Linked DNA regions of Homo sapiens: regions 1, 2, 4, 5, 6 and 7 are each linked to region 3. The links are contacts of gene promoters, found by promoter capture Hi-C in blood cells and fetal thymus (Javierre and others, 2016). All regions are on one chromosome and are shown on one strand. The core of a region is centred on a gene start or on the middle of the fragment in contact, and the rest is flanking DNA. Distances in the headings are between cores, read along the strand shown.

Region 1 (3,282 bases), core at 312-2,811, 230 kb after region 3:
CAGACTCCAGCTGCTCTGGGCCTCCCAGAATCAGCCACACCATGCTTGTCAGAAGTCTCAGCAAGAATTTTGGAGAATATCTAGAGACCAATAAAGATGGAAGCAGAGAGGGCCTAAGGAGGTGCACGGCCAGCAAGTGCCCTCATGTGATCAATGAATTTTAGAATATTGGTACCTAACCTTCAACTGAATTATAACTATAAATCATAATTATAAAAGTAATATAGGCTTGCCATAAAATATCCAAGCAGTTTAAAACGGCTTCCTGTCAACCATGTAAATAGCCAAAGAAACTATGCTGTATATATTATTCACTAGTTTTATTTTTTCACTTAACAATGCATCCTTCTAATGTCTAAGTAGTATTCCCTGTTAAGAATATAACAATTATACTCTAATATTCTCCAATTGATGGACTTTAGGTTGTTTTGATTTTTAAATTATGATAAAAAAGGATGTCCTGTGACTTATGTACTTGTTCATGAGCACGTAATTCTGTAGGAGAGATTCCTAGAAGAGAAATTGACCAGACCCTGACAAATTGCCCCAAGCAGTGTTCTGTGAACCCTCCCGCCTATGGACTAGGGATGATTCTCCACATCCTCACAGAGTAGATGTTCTCAATCTTTAAAAATGCTCTCCAGTATGATTGGCAAATCAGGCCACCTCTGTATTTCACATTCCTTGCTTAACAACAAGGCTGAACATTGTTAATATATTCATTAGCCAATTGTGTTCCTTTTCCTATGGATTGCTTTTTTGTATCTTTGCTTATCTTTTCTGTTGGGGTGCTCATTTCTCTTACCAATTTGTAGAAATTCTCAGCTACATCAGGGATCTGAAGCCCTTGCTATATGTGTCACACATGTTTTTGGCTTGTCTTTATCTCCATGGCACATCTAGGAAGATGTGAGCAGCCACTGTGGCCCCGGTTTTGGGATGGAGAGACAGCTCTTCCAAGAGAGGGCAGCCAAGGTAAAGAAACACAGATGAGCCACGGAAAGAGGGCATCTGTCTTCAGTTACCTCTGCAGGGTAAGCAGTGATGCATTGAGGAAAAAGTATATGATTTGGAGATTAAAGGGCTACAGTTCATCCCCTGCTAACTATGTGACCTTGGAAAAATGGTCTAACCTCTCCAAGGCTCAGTTTCTTCTATAAAAGAGAGGAAGTAATGGTTACTTCATATAGGATTGTTGTGTGGAATAAACGAGTAAATTCATGTAAAGGACTTGCTTTGGGGCCTGGCATCCAATCAGTGTTTGAGCAATGAACAGTTTACGGTGTGAACCCAATAAAATCACATGCACAGATGCCTTCTGATGATTTAAAGGGCTATGAACACATAAGTAAGTAGCTGTTACTTTTACACACAATTATCCATGTCAGGTAATGTACTAGAAGTCTGTGAAACATTCAGCCACTCTCTTAGTTCTGAGTTTGGAGACTGGAATGCTCTCTGAGAGCGTCAGGTGCCCTCCCACATTCACTGATTGGTAAAGGGGAAGATGGGGGCTGGGAAGGGGGAGGCTCACTCAGGAGTCCAGACAGTGGTGGGGACAACCTGAGTGCTCAGTCGTAAAGAGGAAAGGCAGAATTTTTCCTTGCTATGGCTGGAACAAACGCACTTTTGATGCTGGAAAACTTCATAGATGGAAAATTTTTACCTTGTAGCTCATATATAGATTCTTACGACCCATCAACAGGGGAAGTGTATTGCAGAGTGCCAAATAGTGGAAAAGACGAGGTGAGTATATGCACTTAAAGAAGACTGAAATGTGTTTAATATGTTGGCCAATTATGGGTAACAGTTTTCTAAAAGCAGAGGGAGTTGGGGGAAGATGTAGGATTGTTAAACATGATAGAAGGAAGATTCTAGTTCTCAGAAGATGTACCTTGTAACTGGACTGTATGATACCTAGAACAAATCTCTTCCTATATGCAGAAAGTAAGTCATTTTTCTAGCCAACCTAACACAGCCCTGTGTGCAGTTTTTTTTTGCAATTCTCAAACATTTCCTAATCAGTGTCTAGTACAAAGTATTATTTGTAAGAGCTATCACTTTGTTAAATATTCCCTTTTCTCCACCACGCACTGCTTAAATTTACCACTATATCCATGGAATTAAAAAAAAAGTATAGCTTTACTAAAATAAACAAACAAGCAAAAAACTGTGGGCTTTGTTTTAGATTGTCTTCTCATAATTTGTCATGTCTTCAAAATACCTAGTAAAATAAAATCAATCATTTGAATGATGAAACTCAAAATCAAATTCCCATATATTTTTGGAGTTAGATTTAACAGCGTCTTTTTTCTTATCCAAAGTGTTTAATGGCATATGCATTACATTTTTTTGGTGATGTAGAATTAATTTTACTTGGAGAATTTTGTAAAATATTTGAGATATATTTGATTAGCTATCAATTATTGCACTGAGAATGTAAATATATCTGAAGTGGTAAATGTAGCTGATGTATATATAGTCATCTAATGCCTTATGAATTATAATTTATTCTTTTTAAGGCACAAATAACTAGATTATTTAAAATATAGTCTTCCTATAAAAATATATATTCCATGCAAAGTTTTTTTTTAAGAACATTGCTATTTTTTTTCTTTTTTGTTAATACTTCAAATCTGTCTTGCATTTAAAGTAAACCTTCAGACTTAGGGATTAATGTTTGCAAATGTTGGTTAATGCATTGGTTAAATTATAAACTGCAATTTTGTTTGCTTCAAATGACTTAACACAGCTCTGGGAAATCCAGCTTTGTGTTTTCCACTCTTCCTTGTTTGCCAAAGTGAAGTTAAAAATGACAAACATGCCAAATTCAGCTGAAATATTTCCTGCAGCTAATGGCTCATAACTTTTTAGAAAATAGAATGAGCTATGGATGCGCTAGCTAGTAGAGTAATAGATATGTTCAGTTTCTCAGCAATCCAACTTCCAAATATCCTATCTGATCCCATAAGTCATAGTTTTTTCCGGCTTGAAAAATATGGTTACCATACAAACTGCATGTCCAATTTCCAAAACATCACTCAGGAAAATGTTGCTGGTGCTGCTAACAGTGGCTCCCGTTTATTCAACTTTTGCTTTGTGCTTTGCAGTCATTAAGCCCTTTTTTAACAAAAAATTAAAAAATTGATACATAATAATTGTACATCTTTATGGGCATATGTGACATTTTGATACATGCATACAATGTGTCATGATCAAATCAGGGTAATTAGGATCTCCATCACATTAAACATTTATCATTTCTTGGTGTTGGGAACATTC
Region 2 (3,501 bases), core at 789-3,288, 220 kb before region 3:
AAGGATAGAGGCCTAAGTGAATCTGCTGAATTTGATCATTTGAAGTCCAGGGTTACCATAAGTCCAATTTAGTTTTATCATGGAGACAAGCTTTGTTGTACCCGGTTGAAGACTGAAGGATTCAGATATATGGATTGCAGTTGTGTGCTGTTTTTCAAGGAGTTTAGCTTTTAACGAAGCTTAAGGAAGTAACGGAATCAGAGGGAGAGTTTTAGTTGGTTTGTTTCCTCTTTGTTTTTGTACTAAAATAGAAGGGTCTATGCTTCTAACCTGCAGGGAAATAGCCAGTAGGAATTCGAAAGTAGAATTTTTCGTTTTGAAGCAGGGTCTTCCCTGTCACCCAAGCTGAGTGCAGTAGCATCATCACAGCTCAATGCAGCCTCGACCTTCTGGACTTAAGCAGTTCTCCTGCCTCAGCCTCCTGGGTAGCTGAGACCACAGGTGTGCACTGCCACGCCCAGCTAATTTTTTATTTTTTTGTAGAGATGAGGTCTCACTGTGTTGCCCAGGCTGGTCTTGAACTCTTGGACTCAAGTGATCCTCCTGCCTCAGCCTCCCAAATTGCTGGGATTATAAGCATTAGTCGTTGGGCCTGGCCTGAAGGTAGAATTTGGAAGAGCTTTAAGGATAACCCTAAGGGGACTGAGGGATGAATCTTGAACAGAATGCTCCTCTTCCTCTAACCCTAGAAGTAAAGACATAAGGATAGGTGGGAGAGGTCCATTCTTTCATAAGTTTGGAAATGAGAAGTTCAGGGGTTCAAGACCAAATTTTCTCTGTGAAGCAAGGCAGTGAACTAAGAGAGAAAAGGAGGTAAAGGTTTTGAGAAAACCAAGATGCATTGAGGTAAATTGCTTTACCCTAAAGAATATTGCTGGATAATTGGTTTGAGCCAGGACTAGATCTTAATTTTGAAATTGACATGAAAGTGTCATATCAGTAATCTGTGAACCACCAGTCCTTGGTACCTATCAGAGGGTCAAAAATCACGATTAAATATAACCAAAAAACTTTATAGTGACTGATTCAAATTTGAATACTGGTTTTAGCTAATGTAGTAGTAATGAACTGGTTTGGGGGTAAGATTTTTCTGGTATCTTATTGCTGTAGAAATTTTTCTTTAACAGTTACAGTGTTGTCTTCCAAATCCTTCACTTCTCTGTCCTGGCTTGTAAAGAAAACATCTGAGGACTGAGGGGTCATATTTGAATTGCTCTTTATAATACCATAGACTACTCATTGCTTAGACTTTACTAAGCTAGAAATCACAAGAGCATAAGCTACTCTTAAAATTTATATTATGAGAATGTAAAAGATACCTGACTTCAAATATCTTGAACCTCACTTTGGCTCAAGTTTTCTGTTTAACTTTTTCTTTAATACTGATATTTTAATTTTTACAACAGATACATGATTTGCAAAAAAAAAAAAAAAAAAAAAACATCCTGGGTATTATTGGTTTCTTTTTTTCTAATGCCACCAGAACTGCCATCAGATTAAAATATTATCTGCATTATTATTCATATTAGTGGAAAAATATGACAGCTGTCTGGGAGAGAGATGAATTTGTGAACTTTTAAGTATACAGACAGCATTAACATTCTTTCGGTTATAATTTAAAACCAACTTGAGATATGATATCATCACAGCTTGAAACTTCATAAACAATTCTTCAGGTGAATGTAGCGTGTTATCTAAAATTAGCTAAAAGGGTAGACTTGTAAGTATACATGGAAATGAGTACTATATATCTCCCAAAGGTTTTAAATTTTAACTAATCACTAAAAGAGAAACTAATTGTCAGCTTGCTTAATATTGTGCATTCAATTTCATGTTCAGAGCAGCAAGTTTTTTAACATGAAAATTAACCCCCGTCTAGAGAATTAGTATTTGCATATTTTGCTTGTCTGCTTATACCCTAAAAGAGTAGGCAAAACAGTTTTATGATTAACTTGGCAGAAGTTCCAGATGATTTTTTTTCTTTATTATGAATTTCATTAAATTTTTATGCTTTTAGTTTTCTCCAATATGGAGGTATTAAACTGACTTTGGCAGACTGTGGTTTTTGCATGAAGCAAACAGAAAAGGGTGTTGTGAAAAGAGGGTAGATTGGTGTAGGGTAGACTATCTTAACCAACCTTTCTGTTGTTGTAAAATTATTAAGCAATTCTTTTCCGCAGCACATATTTCAAAAATAGATATTGCTTCACTCTATTTAATGGTTATTATTATTTTTCTTCCTCTAAATGGAATAATAAATATGTACGAGCTTGCTTTGAAAATGATTTGAGTTCTAATTTCAAAACAAATATCTAATAATAACAGTAATAATTAACAGTTACCCCAAACTTTAGAAATTATCTGCTCTGTTACGTTGCTGCTCTCATCACTTTATGGACATTTGAATAGTCTGTAAAAAACTATGTCAAGAAAGATCAGAATTATAAAAATGTTTAGGAAGAACATATAATTATAGATTACAGGTTTTTTAAAAAAAAATTTTGTTGTAAAAGAATGACAAGTCTTTCTGTTTGAACAGAGGCATTTAAGTATCCTATTTTAACTTTCCAGGTATTTTTTGTTTTTAACACAAATTTCTGAAGAAGAAGACTATAAATGGCTATTGTGTGTATCTATAGATATATCTATATCTATAGATATGGATATATGTAGGTGTGTGTGTGTGCAAAGATGTGTGTGTATATAGATATATCTTCATTTCTCCAGCATACACCTGTTTGTTTGCACCAGATTTTTAAATGCATTACTTGATTTTAAGATAAAAATTTTCAGGAAGTAAAACTGAGAAATGATTCCAAAAAGAAGTGAATTAAATAGTTAAGTGATAAATATGTTCTTTTCCATTTGAAAGCACAGAACTCTGAAAAATTGGCTACATCATCATATGACATCATAAATACCTAATTACCCTTACTTCTAGTGATGTTAATAATAACTAATATAACACCTTATTTGTATACTACTTTATGGTTTGCCCTTGCCAAGATATTCTATTTAATCTATTTCTTATTTAATGTTCATTAGTGCTTTATGGTTAACATATGAATAGCACTTTATGATACCCGTTCATCATTATTGCTTTCCTGGCACATTCGCATTGAAGTATAGATATTATTTTTCTTATCTCCATTTAAAGATGGAAAGTGAAGCTCAAAGATATCAAATGAGTTTGTTGTTTTAGGTATTGTATCACTATAACTGGTCAGTTTTGATCTGTATTTAATGGATTTTGATAGAATTTTTAAAGCTGGGTGATATTTTAGGACTGATGTGGTATTTGACCCCCCCAACTACTTTGGAAAATACTTTTATTTTTTATTGAGATGACATAATAGTTTAGTTACTTTAAAACCATATTAACATATGGTCTTAATTGACTTTTTCACTGAATTTGCTAACTCTGCTCTAAGAGAAAAACCTAAACTAAGATATACTGTTTATTATCACTGTTTAAAAGCAAAAAATAGAAAAAAAAATTTA
Region 3 (3,713 bases), core at 395-2,894:
GAGGGGCAGCACACCGTCCTGCGCGGCCAGGCTCCGGAGTAGGCATAGGGAGCCCGGAGCTCCCCCAAGTCGCCCTCTCGTCCCCAGAGCCCAACCAAGCCCCGGCGCTGCTCCCCGCCCAGCCCAGCCCGCGGGTGCTGCTGCAGGGTCTCCACCCACGCTCTTTGCAACTTCCCAGCGCCGCGCGGGGACCAGCGCCCGCAGGCTCAACAACAAACCAGTAGGAGAAAATCAAACAATCTAAGGAAAGGCGAATGGATTTGCTTTGCCTCCATGGACTTCGCCTTAGAACTCCTTCGCGAGGGTCTGTCCGGTCACCGCGCCTCGGCCGGGGCGACCTAAGGCGGCTGAAGGAGGGTGCGAGAAGGCGCGGCGACCTCAGCCGCATCCACGTGTGCGCGCCGCGCAGGGACCTTTCGCCTGGGGGCAGAGCCCGCGGGGATCGCGTCCCGGTTGCGCGGCAGCGGCCTTGGGTGCTGCCGGCCTCTGTCCCCTTGAGCCGAGTGGCGACTGCGACGGCTGCCGAGCTAGCCCTGGCACCCGCCGCTCGCAGGGAGCCCCGGCGTGTGCTGCTGGGAAAGTCCAGAGGCCGGTGGAGACTGGGGAACGAGCAACTGACAGTTCGGACGAGGATTTCCCTCCTCCTCCTCCTCTCCCTCTTCCCATCTGTCCGGCCAAAAATGTGAAGGGACTGCACCCATCTTCCCGGCGAGCCTCCCTAAGTGCAGTGACATGTGCGACGGCGGCGCGTGTGGGTGCGCGTGCAATGTTTGCAGTGGAAGTAAAAGCCTTTCAGAGAAAAATGATTCGAACCTCCAAAACCAGGTCTTAAGACAATTTGCAAAAGTAGAGACCCCTTTATCCCCCTAAAATCTGCTTTTCAGCCGCCTGTCAGCTGACACTGGTCCTCGCCTCCATAAAGAATGAATGAAATTTAAATGAACTACCTGCAGCTACTAAACAATCCAGCATTTTCCCTGTATCTGCCATATGCTCTGCACTTCCAAGTCCAAACATATCTCAATGCATCCAGCAATTACGCTGCGGATCCCTCGCCGACACCCGCGGCATCAAGCCAGGCACCTGGTGGGCTCCCCGGGGCTGGTGGGCACCGCTCTGCCCTCGGCTGGAACGTGCTTTCTTTTTCCCCCTAAAGAAAAATGTATCCCCATGCAACTTGCAAAATGAGCCGCAGGGCGTGCTTCCCAACGTCCGGATACATTTCCCGCAAAGACTCTTCCATTCATCAGTCTCTGGAGCGGCTTCTGCTGCCGAGGCAGGGGCTCCAGGTCCTCGGAGGGTCTGACAGCCCCTCAGATGATCCCGGAACGAATTCCCACCTGCTCCCGGGAGCCTGGCGCCCCGCGCGCCCCCGCGCGCCCCCGCCCTCGGCCGCCCGCCCGGCTCCCCGTTACCTGTGCCGGGGTCTTCGGGCCATGGCGCGGCGGGCGCGGGGCTCCGCCGAGAGCCGCGGGGACCGCACCGGGCTGCCGCCTCCCGCTGCCCGCCGCCTGCCTGCGTCCCTCCCCGGCTGCGCAGCGGCGCTCCGCACCGCTGGGGCGAAGTTTCTCAGGAGAAAGAGGAGGAGGAGGTCACGGAGGAGGAGGAGAAGGAGGAGGAGGAAACAGGTTGATATTAAAGTGTAAACTCTGTAAACAGAGATGCCATCAAACAAAGAGCTTTGGACACTCCCCCTCCCGCCAAATCTGGCGCCCCTGCAGTGCGCACGCGCCCTGCCCGCCGCCTCCGCGGTCGCCCTGGCTGCCGCCCGCGGGGCTGCCGGGCTGGCCGGGTCGCCGCTCCCATTCGGCGCTCGCGCCGCCGCGGTGCGCCTAGCGCGCCGCGAGGCCCGGGAGGCGCGCGGGCAGGGAGCCCGGGGCCAGGGAGGGGTGGCCGGGGGCCGCGACGGCGCCTTTTCCTGAGCAAACCCCGCTCCCGGGTCGCGGCGGCGCCGACCCGCGCCCAGTCCCGCCGCCTCCCCTCCTCCCTGGCTGCCGCACCGCGGTCGCCCGGCTCCGCGTGCTCCCGGGCAGCGGGACCAGAGCTCCTCCAGCTCCCACTCACTGTCGCGGGGGCGGCAAGCGGTGGGGGGAAATTCCCGCACAGAAGATTGGATTTTCGTCAAGGTTTACAACTGTGCCCTCTGGAGACGGGGAAATTAGGAGTTGGAGGAGTAGGGGATGTGAGCATATGTATTCATAGGCTGTTTGGCTAGGGTTTTTTTTCCTTCTTCTTAAATAAATAACATCTCTAATTTAACTTGTTAGTGACAAAGGACGCTTCAATACAAGTGGGCGGCAACCATCACCGCTCACTAATGGAGCGCCCCAGCGGAGCTTTCACTCCCCTCCCGGATCCTGCAGCCGCCACCGTCGTATTGTCACATGTCCTTCACTCTCACCCCAGCACACACCCGGGCCCCACCCACCCCGCCCCGCCCGGCCCAGGCGGTGCCCACCGCACACCTTTGCTCCCCTCCCTGCACAGAGCGCGCACCCTGGATTGCACACCTGCAAAAAAAAAAAAAAAAAAAAAAAAAAAAAAAAAATACACGGGGGTCCAGACAGCCCGCCCCTAGCAGAACTCAGGAAACCCCACGTTTGCATGCATGGTTTTAGAAGTAAAACAGTTTGTGATTTTGGAGGTCGGTATCCCTGCTTAGTGTCATTTGAGGGCTCTATTTTACGAGATAAAAGTCAGCAAAGGCTTTCGTGTTGTTTAATGAGGGTCTCCAGAAGTAAAGGAAGAAGATAAGTGCTGAATTTATAAGGATTGATGACTGGGGGGATTTTAGGGGAGTTTTAGTTTTACTTCCGTTTATAGATTAGAACCATTGGGGATTTTTTTTTCATTCTCTGTACACACTAATGTATTTTTCCTTTAATCTTTTAGGAGTTTGAGACTTCTGCTGACTGGGTTTGTGGGTGTCCCATGTGCCCCAGCAGTTCAAACTTAGCTCAGAAAGCATTTTTTCTTACTAAAAAAGCATGTTCTTACTAAAATGAGTCATAATTTTATTAAACGGTGAAGCATGCGAGGTTTCAAGACTATCTGGTGTTTTAGACTTTCTTTAAAATTGTTATATAGTTTAAATCTTTATCAAGTGTTAGTTGCTAGTAAGGTTTTAACATTCCTTTCCTCCTGAGAAGAAAATAACACTGAAACAAAATTATTGTGAGATATTTCGGATCACAATTACAAAGGACAAGGCAAATTAATACTTTTAAAGCCAATATTTATTTCTAGATTCTATAATAATTTTCTTTCTTCACATCAAAAATAAACAAAATCTTTTAAAAATATCTAGAATAAACATCTAGAAACCACCCCTAAAGAAATTGCATTCTGGCTTTCGGATTGCTTTATGAATCTAACTGGCAAGATTCCCAATTGCTGAGTCTCTTGGACACAATGTGAGTATCTGAACCCTTTGTGAAGTGAGTTCATAGCCTCTTTTTCAAGATTTTAGGAGGTGTGTAACTACTCCTAAGTTCTTGAACCCCTTTAAAGTAGAAAGATACTAAGTTCAGTTTTCCTTTTTTTCTTTGTAAATCATTTTCCTATGTATCATTTTGAGAATTTATAATTTTTCATTTCCCAGATATAGTTTTACATTTTTCCCTCAGTTGTATGACAATAATATGTTTGGGAATATGCATAGTCCAATAAAGAATTCACATGCAGTAATTTTATTAGGCTAATGTTGGATATAT
Region 4 (3,733 bases), core at 269-2,768, 200 kb before region 3:
GTAAGAGATTTTTGTGTTATAAATGGTTAATAAGTAAAAAGTGGAACATTGTTCTTATTTCAGACAATTTACTTTTTTCCTCAACTTTCTCTAAGAAAACATTCAACTGTAATTCATAAGGAATAAAAGTTAAGAATGATTTCTAACTGGTTTCCATCCTTTTTTTGAGAAGAACCAGAAATAACACATTTTAATAGAAGTACTCTAATGAAAACTGTTATTCAGTTTAAAAAATAAAAACATTTTTAATATTTTCAAAAGTTAATTGAAGCATTTCATCAAGCATTGTTTATGGAGAGCCTACTATGTAACAGAGACTCTGCCAAGCACTGCGAGAAATGGAAGATGAAAGCCCTCAGAGGCTTTCCAGTCTATCTGGGGAGTCCAGCAGGCAAAGAAATAGTTATAATATGATGGTGGTAAATTCAACAGGGCATGCGTATAAAACACTGTGGCAGCACAGAGGGGAGAGTAAGTCCGATTACATGTATCATCCTTATAAAGTGCACTTAGTTTTATGGCCTTGTTTAGAAATTTATCTTGCCCATGCAGTATACAACAGTATCATCTATTTTGGAGTTCTCTAAATGATAGCTTAGAACTCAGAATCTGGATTTCGTTGCTGGCCTTTTGTAAGGCTCATGTGTCACAAGTCATATAATGATCTTAGTATGCTTTCTTCAAATCTGCCTCCCAAGGATCTTACGGCATTCTGAGAATAAGTGAGTTTATGCTTAGTAGGACTCCAGTTTATTTCATATTAATGTCTATGTGGGTGTGTTTGTATTTCATATTAATGTCTATATGGGTGTTTGTATGTATATGTGTTATTGTGTATACTTGCCACTTTTTTTAAAAGGAATCAAGTCTTTTACATCTCATTGCTGTTAAATTTGTCTGAGAAATATAGGGCATGAACAGGTGTTTTGTTTTGGCCAACTTAGAATCAGTGAAGCTTGTTTTTTGTGGGAGTCCACTTTTCCTTTTTTTTTCCCTTCTTCAGTAGTGACATTATGAGGCATAATGTTATCTCAGTCTTTTTAGTCTGATTTTGAAGTGAAGATTTAATGAAGAGTTGAAAGTAAAACACTTTAAAAGCTAATGTAAAAGGCAGATATAAATGCACATATAACAGGCAAATTAATGTGCTTAATGTTCACTGAACTACTGCAGGGAAAAAATAACATAATAAGCATATTTTTAAAAATAACTTCTCTTTGCTTTGGATATGAAAATCTTTTTCTAAATCATCATGCTTATGTTCAAAGTTTAAATTTAAAAGTTTTCCCTAGAACTTAAAATGTCTCTTTTATGGAAAGACCTGGAAAAAATGGGTTCACACCATCTCACATTCTCAATACCATACCAATGTAATGGACCAAAAAATGTTTTCCACCATTAAATCCCTTCTTGTTTTAACTTTGTACTTTTTTTTTGGGGGGGGGGGGGTTATTTTACTTAAAAAGATGTTTAATTTGTACACATGCAGGTACTGGGAATGCAAGAGCATTTATACATTCAGTAAGTACCCAGTGCATACTTACAGTGTCCCAGGCACTTTTATACATGCTCTGAACGTATCAGTGAACAAAACTGGTAAAACTCCACATCTTTGTGTAGCTTACCTTCTAGTGGAGAATGACATTAAGCAAATGTAGTCTGGTTATCCCTCAGTATCTGGGTAGTTGGTTTTACGACCCTTTGTAGATAGCAAGGTCCTTGGATGCTCAAGTCCCCAATATAAAATGGACAGTATTTGGATATTGCCTGTGTACATCCTCCTATATACTTTAAATAATCTCTAGATTACTTATAATACCTAATACAATGTAAATGCTGTATAAATAGTTGTCCCGTATTGTATAGGGAATAATGACAAGAAAAAAGTCTATGTGTTCATTACAGATGCATTTCTTTTCTGAATAGTTTCAATCCATGGTTGGTTGAATGCGTGGATGCAGAACCCATGGATGCAGAGGGCTGTTAAATAAAAACATTATAACGACAAAGCAGGGAAGGGAGTTGCACCTGAGGAGTAGGGTTGGGTTGCTGTTTAAATGGAGTGGTCAAGGAAAGCTTCACAAAGTAGCTGAGAATTAAGCAAAATTCAGATGACGACAAAGAAGAAGAAAGAGAGGGAGGGAGGGAGGAAGGAAGGAAGGAAGGAGGGAGGAAGAGGGGAAGGGGAGGGAGGGAGAGGGTGAAGGGGAGGGAGGGAGGGAGAAGGGGAAGGAGGGAGGGAGTTGGGGGAGGGAGGGAGGAAGGAAGGAAGGAAAGGGAAGGGAGCTTGGAAAAAAGGAAGCTAGGAAGGAAGGAAGCTAGGAAGCTGTAAGTTGTTTGGGAGAATAGCATCCCCATCCAAGATCCTGAAACAGGAATGTACTTGGTATGCATTTTGAACAGCAAAGAGGTCAGTATAGCTAGATTGGAGGGAACAAGGAGGAGAGTAGAAAACAGTAAGTTCAGAGAGGTAGCAGCAGGCCCAGATTGTACAGAACCTTGTAGGAATGAAGTGCAGAACTCAGCCCCATCCCTAGCACTGCTAGTATTCACTGGAAACCTATTTTTAAATAGGTAGGTAGATGGGATTGCATAGTTTGATATTTGCTGTAAAAGGAATGAACAAAGTGTACTAGAGAATGCAGATGATATAGTAACAAATTCTGTGTTAAAGAAGACAATAAGGCCTCATAGAGAAGACAGTATGTGAACTAATTGTAAGATGAGAAGAATCATAAAAGGTGTTAGGGCATTACAGCTAGGAAGGCCAGTTAAAAGGTGATTTAATAATTGAGGTAGGAGAAGGGGGTTGAAGTAAGAGAGTGGAGATGTTAAATCATTAACGTGGAGGTCTAGAATGTGAGTGAAGATAGAGAAGTAGAATTTGAGGGTGCCAGAGGCTTCTAATTTAGGTGAATGAGTGGATAGCAATCCATAAATGAAAATAGGAGATACAGGAATATTGAGAGGAAGATAATGAATTGTATTTTAGATATATTAAGTTTGAAATGCCTACAAGATATTATGGCATTTCTGAAACACGATATCTAATAGCTTGCTCAATCATTTGAACCTCATTTATTAAATATCCTACTATGAGTCAAGCCCTGTGCTAGGAACTATACAGTGTATTTTGGAATATAGGCTTAGAGTGTAAGTATAGATGAAGGAGTCATTGGTATATGTGTGGTATTTGAGCCCATGGGAGTTAATGAGATAAGCTGGAAGAGGCTATTTAGTGAAAAGAAACTAAGAACTATTAGGGGTGACTATGAGGTGGATAACTTGGATGTTTCTTACCCAGAAAGACAGTAAGGAAAAAAAGGAGGAAACAAGAAAATACAAGAAGCTTCTTTTGTTGTTGTATTTTTTTAACTCTGCATTGTAATAACAAATCAGTAAAAAGGAAATACTGAAATTATAAATTTACCTTTCTTATCCTTGTTATATTTATACTTTTGATTTTCAGTCCATAATATATTGTTAAATCTATGTTAATCTATTGTTAATCTACTTTCAATCTATAACATTATTGTTAAAATAATGTTAAAGACAGATATTAAATTATATTTTAAGGATTGAACACACAGAATTGAAGTTTGTTGGCTTTGCCAGTGTAATAAATATGTGGCAGGCTTTATTAGGAACACATCCTGCTAGCCTCAGATAGAATATATAGAGCATGTCACAAACGATACGATTTGAACAGACTTCAATCCATATTAGAGTTTAC
Region 5 (3,432 bases), core at 361-2,860, 210 kb after region 3:
AATTCATGTATTGATCATCAAGTAACAACAAGTTAATTGTTGTGAGCGAATGGAACTCATTCACAGAAAGCAGTATGTCCTATGAGGCAAAGGAGGGGTTGGTTACTGCATATTTTTACTCATGCAATAATAATATTTGCCAATGGAGAGGTAGAGGGATGAAGAGGTCAGAAGTGACTTTGAATAGTAATACTGTCTCCCTGACTACTGTAGTTTCTTAAAAATAAGCATGAATTGCAAGTTTTTCACTGTTGCTTTAGGAGATTCTGCCAGCATATATTGATTCAGAAATACCAGGATCAAATTTGTTTCAGAAAAATATGGCCATATTTTGTCAGTCTACTCCCTATGGGAGAAAAACTTGAAAAAAAATTTTTTAAGCAAACAAAGGTTTCCTAAGCTATTAAAATTTTACTGTTTAGGGACTAATGCCATAATACTACATAAATATATTTAAATTTTCCCTATTTTGTATGGGAAACTCTATTTCAGTAGCTTTTGGGTACAAGTAATTTTTTCCTTTGTTTTTTATTTATTTGTCAATTTTCTTTTTACTTCTTTTTACCAACTAGTGGTTTTTGATTACATGGATAAATTGTATAATGGTGAAATCTAAGATTTTAGTGCACCCATCACCCAAGTAGTGTATATTGTACCCAAGATGTAGTTTCTTATCCCTCACCCCCTTCAAGCCCTACCCGCTACTGAGTCTCCAGTGTCCCCTATACTGTTCTGTATGTCTTTGTGTACCCATAGCTTAGCTCCCACTTTTAAGTAAGCACATATGCTATTTGGTTTTTCATTCCTAAGTTACTTCTCTTAGAATAATATCCTCCAGCCCTATCCAAGTTGCTGCAAAACACACTATCTCTACCCTTGTATGGCTGAGTAGTATTCCATGGTGTACATATACGTTTTCTCTATCCACTCATTGGTTGATGGGCACTTAGGTTGGTTCCACATTCTTGCAACTGTAAATTGTGCTGTGATAAACATGCATTCAAGTATCTTTTTGATATAATGACTTATTTTCCTTTGGGTAGATACCCAGTAGTGAGACTGCTGGATCAACTGGTAGATCTACTTTTCGTTCTTTGAGAAATCTCTGTTCTGTTTTCCTCAGAGGCTATACCAATCCACATTCCTACCAGCAGTGCACAAGTGTTCCCTTCTTCATCGCATACAGGGCAACATCTATTGTTTTTTGACTTTTTAATAATGGCCATTCTGGCTGGAGTAAGGTGGTATCCCATTGTGGCTTTGATTTGTACTTCCTCGATGATTAATGATGTTGAGCATTTTTTCATATGTTTCTTGGCCATTTGTATGTCTTCTTTTGAGAAGTGTCTGCTCATGTCACTTGCCCATTTCCTGATGGAATTGTTTGCTTTTTTTTCTTGCTGATTTGAGTCTTTTGTAGATTCTGGATACTAGTCCTGTCAGATGCATAGTTTGCAAATATTTTCTTCCATTCTGTGGATTGTCTGTTTACTATGTTCAGGATTTCTTTGCTGTGCACTAGCTCTTTAGCTTAATTAGGTCTTATCTATTTATTTTTATTTCCGTTGAATCTGCTTTGGGGGTCTTAGTCATAAATTCTTACCTAGGCCAATGTCCAGAAGAACCTCTCCCAGGTTTTCCTCCAGAATTTCCATGGTTTCAGTTCCTAGATCCAAGTCCCTCTTGAGTTAACTCTTGCATGTAGTGAGAGATAGGAATCCAGTTTTCGTTCTTCCATATGTAGCTATCCAGCACCATCCATTTTCCCAGCACCATCCATTGAATAGGGTGTCCTTTCCCCAATTTATGTTTTTGCATGCCTTGTCAAAGATTAGTTGGTTGTTAAGTATTTGGCTTTGTTTCTGGGTTCTCTATTCTGTTGCATTGGTCTATGAATCTACCTTTATACTAGTACCATGCTGTTTTGGTTATTATAGCCTGTAGTATAATTTGAAGTAGGGTAGTGTGATGCCTCCAGATTTGCTCTTTTTGCTTAGGACTGCTTTGGCTAATTGGGCTCTTTTTGGGTTCCATATGAATTTTAGGATTGTTTTTTCTAATCTTGTGGAAAATGATGTTAGTATTTTGACAGGATTTGCACCAAATCTGTAGATTGGGCAATGTGGTCTCTTCCATGATATTGATTCTTCCAATTCATGAGCATGGGATGTATCTCTGTTCATTTGTCATCCATGATTTCTTTCAGCTGTGTTTTGTAGTTCTCCTTGTAAGAGATCTTTCACCTCCTTGGCTAAGTACATTCCTAGGTGGGTTGGTTGGTTGGTTTTGTAGCTATTGTAAAAGGGATTAAGTTCTTGTTCTTGATTTGATTCTCAGCTTGATCGTTGTTGGTGCTACTGATTTGTGTACATTGATTTTGTAACCTGAGACTTTACTGAATTCATTTATCAAATCTAGGTGTTGTTTGGGAGGAATCTTTAGGATTTTTTAGGTATGTAATTATATCATTGGCAAACAGAGATAGTTTGACTTACTCTTTTCCAATTTGGATGCCCTTGATTTCTTTCTCTTGCCTGATTGCTCTGGCTAGGACTTCCAGTACTGTGTTTAATAGAAGTGATGAGAGTGAACATCCTTGTCTTGTTTCAGTTCTTAGGGGGAATGCTTTCAACTTTTCCCCATTTAGTATGATGTTGGCTGTGGGTTTGTCATATGTGGCTTTTATTATTTTGAGGTATGTTTCCTCTTTGCCTAGTTTATTGAACATTTTATCATTAAGGGATCCTGGATTTTATCTAGTGCTTTTTCCGCATCTATTGAGATGATCATCTGTTTTTTTTTTGCTTTTAATTGTTTCAGTGGTGAATCACATTTATTGACTTGCATATGCTGAACCATTCCTGCATCCTTGGGAGGAAACCTCCTTGATCATGATAAAATGTCTTTTGGATATGCTGTTGGACTTGGTTTGCTAGTATTTTGTTAGGGATTTTTGCATCTGTGTTTATCAGGGGTGTTGGTCTGTAGCTTTCTTTTTTTGTTATGTCCTTTCCTGGTTTTGTTATCAGGGTGATGATACTGGCTTTATGGAATGAGTTAGAGAAGATTCTCTCTTTCTCAGTCTTTTAATAGTTTCAGTAGGATTGGTATTATTTCTTTGAATGTCTGGTAGAATTTGGCTATGGATCCATCTGGCCCTGAGCTTTTTTGTTGTTGTTGAAAATTTTTTTTTTATTACTGATTTATTCTCACTGCTTGATATGTGTCTGTTTAGGATTTCTTATTTCTTCCTGATTCAAGCTTGGAGGGTTGTATGTTTCCAGGATTTATCCGTTTCCTCTAGATTTTCTAGTGTGTGCACGGAGGTGTTTATAGTAGTCTCAAATGATCTTTTGTATATCTGTGGTGTCGTTTATAATGTCTCCATTTTCCTTTTGAATTGAGCTTATTTGAATCTTCTCTCTTACTCTA
Region 6 (3,463 bases), core at 26-2,525, 250 kb before region 3:
TCGTGAGTGAAAAAATATGGAAGGCTATGTACCATATTTAGCAGATGGTTTAATAATATGTTTTATCTAATTTTTTTTCAGAGATCAAATATTCCTTGTATTATTTTAAAAATTCATCAGAAGAATATATGAGTATAAAAATTCTATCCATTAGTTTAGTAACCAGCTCAAATGCTACTTCCATAAAGTAGTCTCTCTTGCTCTATAGCTAGAATTAATTTCTCTTGTCCAAGTTTGAAAAGAACTCTTCTGTTTTTCTTTTGCAGTATGTTCTACATCCACCTTCTATTTTACGTTGACATGTTTCTCCTCTCTTGCTAAATTATAAACTCCCTGGGCTCTTGGGACTAGCTCTCCTTTATTCTGCATCCATTATATTATAGAATGTCTCCCATATGGCAGATTCTCAAAAAATGTTTGTTGAATGGAAATTAAGTATTTAAGAGAAAAGATTTTATACCACCAGTCATTTACATGATTAAGACAGTTACATTTGTAAAATCTTTTTTGCTTGTAGATTAGTAGCAAGGAAGTTTGTAGGAGCAGCAAATTATCGGGAGAAGATTCATAGTACTTTGACTCCATGTGGGACTTTTCTGTTTGCTGGAAGTGAGGATGGTATAGTGTATGTTTGGAACCCAGAAACAGGTGAATGTTTATTGAACTTTAAAAATCATTTGGGGAGGTACAGGGGTTTGAAGAAGTGTGAAAATTCTACCATTTTATGGAATAATTTTCAAGGAAATTCTGATTTTGGGTTTTCAATTATGTTTTTTAAGATTAGAAAGCCTTTAAAGGAACTCAGCTACAGTCTAAACTTGTATTAAATTTTGTTCTCTATTGCTTTAATATCTTTATGGATTTAGAATTTCACATTATAATTCAAGGTTTGTTCTTTCATGGCCTATAATGAGACATTGCTGATCTTAGAAAAGCGTTTAATGGAGGCTAACACAAAGTACAAAATGTTACAAGCTGAATTTGGAATATGATTAGGTAGACAAATTGTTAAACATCTATATTTTCATTAGTAACGGAAACATACCTGTGAAAGTTTTGATGTCTGAAACTTAAATAGCAAGTTGCCTGAAATACTGCAGTTCAGTTTTTTTCCAATAAACAATTACATTGGGAAGCTCACTTGTGCCTCACCTTTGCTTTTCAAAAGAAAAGCTAAAGCTACATGAATGTTTTTAATAAGAAATTGAGAGAGTTTCATAAAACTAACTTTAAAATTTCTTTAATGAACAGTATTTGATTTTTTCCTTGTTTTTTTTTTATTCTTTCTGTTAGGCATTTTGACTAGTCAGGTAACTTAGGTTTTTGTTTGATTGTTTGTTTCCTGTACCGTGTTTTGATGCTTTAGCATCAATTCAGTAGCAACAAGTCTCGCCTTCAATAAATGAATCTAGATTCTTTGCTTTTTGACTCCTGACTGATTTTCCTGGATTCCACAGATCTCTACTTTAGACATCTTTTAGGCCATAGTCATAGGTATCTTTCAAGCAAATGGGTACCTCAAACAGCATCTGGGAAAAAAAAAATGGAAAAGTTAATCCTTCACCAAAGCTCACCCAACTAGAGTTTCTTTAGTTTTAGAGTCCTGTAATTTCTCCTGTAGTTCTACCCAGAGTTCTCTGTCATTTGGAGTTTGCTTAGCTCTGTCCAATCTCCAATCTTAGAGTCATATACCTCTCTACTTCCGTCTGTGCCCTTTGTCTTTATTTTGTGCCTTGAAAACCTCATTGAAGAGGTAGAAAGTAGAAGGAGGAGGGTCAGTGGAATGTAAAATAAAGATAATTTAATACATTGTTACTCAAACATTTTTAAATATTTGAGGTTTTCACATAAATAATGTGAGCATCATTGCTATAAATATTTTCTAATAAATGGCAGAATAATCTTGTGAGAAGATTTATCGATACAGATATGCTCTGATATACATTTTTGAATCTCTCTTTTTATTTAGGAGAACAAGTAGCCATGTATTCTGACTTGCCATTCAAGTCACCCATTCGAGACATTTCTTATCATCCATTTGAAAATATGGTTGCATTCTGTGCATTTGGGCAAAATGAGCCAATTCTTCTGTATATTTACGATTTCCATGGTAAGTCTACCACTTGATAAGTAAAGAATTTTTAGAGTAACCTTTACATTTAGACTAAACCAGGAATCTGTCTGGAATTCAAATGTTGACAAAAGTACACATAATAATTGTGCCCTTATGTTGGAATCACAGAAAGCTAGCCACAAGTTTCTTTGTAAATCAATTTAAGTAAATAGAATTCACCTAAAAATTATTTGGAATATGTTAACTAAATTTAAAAGGTAAATAAAACTTAGGGAATACAGATCTTTGATGTTTTCAGTTGACTGTTGAGTTAATATTTTATCCTGTGTTGTTACTAAAGCACATAGTTTTAATAAATTGTAGTTTTGAGAGTTTCTTAACATAAAAAGTAGGGGGAAAATCACATCAGTGAAAACATCACCTGGAATTAGAAATCTAATGTCTTTCGTGTCCGCAATTACACTATTCTATCATTCTGAGAAATAATAAGGAAATAAAAAGTGTGGATACATTATTTTTCAGGGACAGTATGGTATTCTAAGAATTCTTTGGATATATGCTGGTTTTCATATATTTCTTTAATTTCTATCCTGAAATTAGGATTCCACTCTTCTATATTATACTATTAGTGCTGTCATTCTCAAAATTGCATTTCTATTTTCTTCATATAGTATTGTACAAAAATGAAAAGTCTTTGTTAGTTTCTTTGATTTGCTTATGGAAAGTTAAGTGTATTAAGTTAATATAGATTGAATTGATTAATGGTTGTGATAAATACTAAGTAATTAGGCAATTAAGTTAGAAATCTGAAGTTCTTGATCACAGTGTGGATTATATTATGCCTTCCAGGGTAAATTATGCTAGAAAATAATGTGTAAAGTCAAAATGTAATCTTATTTTAAAGAATTTTATAGAGAAGAAATCATTTCTGCAATGCATACTCAGATTTATAGAACACTGTTAGTAATGGTAGAATTGCCAAGCAACACAGTACCATTTACTATTACAAGCAGACATTAGCAAAGATAAACACTGCCTGATTATAGGAAAAAATAGATGGATTCCTCAAATCATTCAATGTCCAAATCTGGTGTCTAGTTTCACCATGTATCCTGAAACAGTTCTCTCTTTGTACCCACTCTAAATCTTCACATAAATGAAGAGTTATACCAAAGTACTTTATATTTGGAACTGTTATACAGGAAATAGGCAGCACAGTTATTTCCTCAGACTCTTAAGAGGTTTTACAGTAGTCTTCATTCAATTTCTAATTTGCTTTTTATGCCTTTGAAATTTTCACTACACATACACATTAAAGTTGCACTCTATCTTTTCTTAAAGCAATTTATTTTTTGTCACTGACAGGATTTTATCATCAGAGTAGCCCAG
Region 7 (3,491 bases), core at 196-2,695, 190 kb after region 3:
GAAAAGCTTCTAGTCCCAAGCATTTCACTAATCTGAATCTACATTTTTGTGGCTGAAAAAAGGCACTATGTTGGTCTCCAGGAAGAATTAAATAGGATACAAAGCAATCTGCTGTTCATCTATCTCTGTTTTTTAAAAATTAGGCATCTGCTTTGATATCTTATGTTTTCTAAATATGTAGCATATTAACCAGCCTTGCAAATTAAGTTTTATAAGCTCATTTCTATAATTAGTGAAGCATAAGTGTAGAACGTGAAGAAAATTACCTCTCGGTCGTGGTAATTTTGCATTTGTCTTTTCTCATATGCAGTATTTTCCCCCCATTTAGAGTTGTCCCCATGTATCCTTCTTCACAATTTACACTATTTCTTACAAAACAAATAAGATAATAGGGCATAACTATCATTTTTATTGAGCTCTTACTTTGTCCTCCCTTTTATGTTAAAACCATATGGATGCACTTCTATTATAGCAGAAATTCCAGCCCCGATTGATAATTTAATTATTCAAAAATAATAGTCTATAAAAACAATTTCCATTTTTACCTAAGAATGTAGATGGTCATGTAGACTATTATTAATTTACTCTATAGCACTATTTATATCGTACATTCTAACCATGTTATGTTTTGTTTAAGGGGAGTAACCATGGATGTTGGTATGACAAAGTTTGAAACCACAACCAAAGTTATTACATTAATGGATGCTCCAGGCCATAAGGACTTCATTCCAAATATGATTACAGGAGCAGCCCAGGTAACTGCTGTTTTCTTCACTATAGTGTGCTGATTGTACTTTACATAAAATTTTCTGATGCTGAGGTTACAATTCTAGGATTTTGACTTTTAAAATATTTTAAAATTAAAAATTTTAACCTTTATAAAGCTTGAACAAAAAGAGCAATATTGTATTTTTCATGATCTTTCTACCTGTACTTTGTAAAACCTTTTAAAATTTCTTACAAAGAAACAAAATGTATAAAAGCTATGAGTTTCTTTATCGTAAAAGTAATGGTAAAGGACTTGATGAGTATAGCTTCATATTTCCTTTATTGATAAGTTGGCCTGAGTATTTCAAAATCTGCCTTATGTCTTTCAATATATTCAAGTTCTATATCTTTTTAAAGAGCTTGTTTATGCAGAAATAATGAAGCTTGGGTATTTTCGCCCAGTGGTTTATTTACTTTCTTTATAATATTAAAAAAGCATTGCAATTTGTAAATTACATGATTCTTAATAAGAATACTGCAAAAAATCAAATATAATTTGCATTCATACATCCCTTAATGATAAGGAAATATTCTGAGAAGTGAGTTGTTAGGCAGTTTCATCATTTGTGAACATATTTGAGTTTACTTACACAAATCTGGATGGTAACATCTTTTATACACCTAGGCTACATGGAACCTATAGTTCCAAGGCAACAAACATGTATAACATATTACTGTATTGAATACTGTAAGCAGTTGTGGCACAGTGGTAAATATTTGTGTATCTAAACTGATCTAAGCATATCATAGAAAAGGTACAGTAAAAATAGGGCATAAAAGATAAAAAATGGTACACCTGTATAGGGCACTTACCATGAATGGAGCTCGCAGGACTGGAAGTTGCTCTGGGTGATTCAGTGAGTGAATGTGAAGGCCTAGGACACGACTGTATACTTTACAAACACTGTACACTCAGGGGACACTACATTTATTTAAAAATATGTTTTTCTTTAATAGTAAATTAAGCTTAGCTTACTGTAGCTTTTTTTACTTTATAAACATTTAAATTTTTTTTAACTTTCTGACTCTCTTATAATAACACTTAGCTTAAAGCACAAACGTTGTACAGCTGTACGAAAATATTTTCTTTCTGTATAGTCTTATTCCATAAGCTTTTTTTAATATGTATTTTTTACTTTAAACTTTTTTTGGTGAAAAACAAAGACACAAATACGCACATTAGCCTAGGCCTACACAGGATCAGGATCATCAGAAGTGAAAAATAGTAAGTACATAAACCACTATCATAATTATCATTATAAAGTACTATACATAATTGCATATGCTATATTCTTTTATACAATTGGCAGCGCAGTAGATTTGTTTATACCAGTATCATCACAGATACATGAGTAATGCATGGTGCTATGACATTATGGCGACTATGACATCACCAGGCAATGGGAGTTTTTCAGCTCCATTATAATCTTATGGGACCACCATCACGTATGCGGTCCATGGTTGACCAAAACGTCATTATGCTGTGCATCACCGTAACTTTAAATTATTAAAGCAATGAAAATAGCACTGCATATATAGGACATTGATTTCTTTCATAATGGATGATTACTGGAAAACATGAAGAGTTAAAATAACTTGACTCTGTTACATGGCAAAAACATGACTTCAAGCAATTACCCGTTTTCTGGGATCTACTCATTAAAATATTAATTTTTTGAGACAGAGTCTCACTCTGTAGCCCAGGCTGGAGTGCAGTGGCACAGTCACCAGTCACTGCATCCACAACTTCCCGGGCTCAAGGGATCCTCTCACCCCAGCCTCCTGAGTAGCTGGGACTGCAGGCATGTGCCACCATGCCTGGCTAATTTTTTAGTTTTTTGTAAAGATGGGATCTCACTGTATTGCCCATGCTGGTCTTGAAATCCTGGGCTCAAGCAATCCCCACCTCAGCCTCCCAAAGTGTTGGGATTACAGGCATGAGCCACTGTGCCCAGCCAAAAAGAGAATTTTAACATGAACATTTGTTAACCAAAAAGGATATTGTATGAATACATTATAATATATTTGAAGATAAGAATTTTTTGATACTATTTTAGAAAGTTGACATGTAATTTTAGAATATTAATTCAAGATTCATGGACTGAATGTGATAAAAGATTGAAATAAAGTAATTATCCCTATTAATTGAGTACCTAATGTGGACCAGATACTGTATTAGGTATTACATGCATTCAGTTTAATATAATCTTTATAACAACTCTAGGAAGTGTATATTATCACCATTTTAAATTAGTATACAGTCATTCCTCCATGTGCATGGATTTTGCATTTACGGATTCAGTCAACTGTGGATTGGAATATTTGGGGGGGACAAATTCCACAAAGTTCCAAAAAGCAAAATTTGAATTTGCCACACACTGAGTACTGTGTTGAATCCATGCAAAGGAAGTGATGTGTAGGCATTGTATTAGGTATTACACATAATCTAGAGATAATTTAAAGTGTGTAAGAGGAAGTGTGTAGGCTATATGCAAAGGCTACCCTGTTTTGTATAAGGGACTTAAGCATTCATAGATTTTGGTATCCATGGGTGTTGGGAGGTCTGGAACCAATCCCTCACTGATACTTAGGGAAACTGTACTTCTCATTGCATTTACCAAAGAATACAATATAGTTTTGATTTCTCCTTATATGTGTATATGTGTGTGTGTGTGTGTGTATGTCTGTGAGTCTTTTTCTTTTTTTTTTTCATTGATTACTTA

The links. Contacts are between HindIII fragments. The CHiCAGO score rates a contact against its expected background, and 5 or more counts as called.
Region 1: a contact is called between the fragment with the promoter of ALDH8A1 here and the fragment with the promoter of MYB in region 3, in 13 of 17 cell types (total CD4 T cells, activated CD4 T cells, naive CD4 T cells and 10 more). The highest score is 18.2, in total CD4 T cells.
Region 2: a fragment that was not itself captured here is called in contact with the fragment with the promoter of MYB in region 3 in 2 of 17 cell types (erythroblasts and megakaryocytes); the score reaches 5.4 in erythroblasts.
Region 4: a contact is called between a fragment that was not itself captured here and the fragment with the promoter of MYB in region 3, in 1 of 17 cell types (megakaryocytes). The highest score is 5.8, in megakaryocytes.
Region 5: a contact is called between a fragment that was not itself captured here and the fragment with the promoter of MYB in region 3, in 5 of 17 cell types (activated CD4 T cells, total CD8 T cells, naive CD4 T cells and 2 more). The highest score is 7.9, in activated CD4 T cells.
Region 6: a contact is called between a fragment that was not itself captured here and the fragment with the promoter of MYB in region 3, in 8 of 17 cell types (megakaryocytes, erythroblasts, fetal thymus and 5 more). The highest score is 21.3, in megakaryocytes.
Region 7: a contact is called between a fragment that was not itself captured here and the fragment with the promoter of MYB in region 3, in 6 of 17 cell types (activated CD4 T cells, total CD8 T cells, fetal thymus and 3 more). The highest score is 5.8, in activated CD4 T cells.

The regions. Positions count from the first base shown.
Region 1 is chr6:134,948,380-134,951,661 of GRCh38, reverse strand. It overlaps ALDH8A1 (aldehyde dehydrogenase 8 family member A1), which reads left to right and starts at 1,561. Exons shown (of 7, transcript NM_022568.4): 1 at 1,561-1,746. The coding sequence starts at 1,609. The HindIII fragment of the contact is 9,755 bases long and covers 1-3,282 here.
Region 2 is chr6:135,395,999-135,399,499 of GRCh38, reverse strand. The region is part of intron 22 of AHI1 (Abelson helper integration site 1); the gene reads left to right. Among named protein-coding and RNA genes, the nearest start is that of AHI1, 100 kb to the left of the region's middle. The HindIII fragment of the contact is 3,714 bases long and covers 182-3,501 here.
Region 3 is chr6:135,179,239-135,182,951 of GRCh38, reverse strand. It overlaps MYB (MYB proto-oncogene, transcription factor), which reads right to left and starts at 1,644. Exons shown (of 16, transcript NM_001130173.2): 1 at 1,416-1,644. The coding sequence starts at 1,438. RefSeq lists silencers at 397-476, 1,526-1,575, 1,636-1,855, 1,926-1,975, 2,416-2,525 and 1 more. The HindIII fragment of the contact is 5,797 bases long and covers 1-3,713 here.
Region 4 is chr6:135,378,448-135,382,180 of GRCh38, reverse strand. The region is part of intron 23 of AHI1 (Abelson helper integration site 1); the gene reads left to right. Among named protein-coding and RNA genes, the nearest start is that of AHI1, 120 kb to the left of the region's middle. The HindIII fragment of the contact is 1,121 bases long and covers 958-2,078 here.
Region 5 is chr6:134,974,022-134,977,453 of GRCh38, reverse strand. All of the region lies in intron 15 of HBS1L (HBS1 like translational GTPase), which reads left to right. Among named protein-coding and RNA genes, the nearest start is that of MIR3662, 3.7 kb to the left of the region's middle. The HindIII fragment of the contact is 3,307 bases long and covers 1-3,263 here.
Region 6 is chr6:135,425,814-135,429,276 of GRCh38, reverse strand. It overlaps AHI1 (Abelson helper integration site 1), which reads left to right. Exons shown (of 29, transcript NM_001134831.2): 19 at 518-648; 20 at 1,970-2,110. Among named protein-coding and RNA genes, the nearest start is that of AHI1, 70 kb to the left of the region's middle. RefSeq lists a silencer at 3,140-3,340. The HindIII fragment of the contact is 4,672 bases long and covers 1-3,463 here.
Region 7 is chr6:134,991,022-134,994,512 of GRCh38, reverse strand. HBS1L (HBS1 like translational GTPase) reads left to right here. Exons shown (of 18, transcript NM_006620.4): 8 at 638-755. Among named protein-coding and RNA genes, the nearest start is that of MIR3662, 13 kb to the right of the region's middle. The HindIII fragment of the contact is 583 bases long and covers 1,154-1,736 here.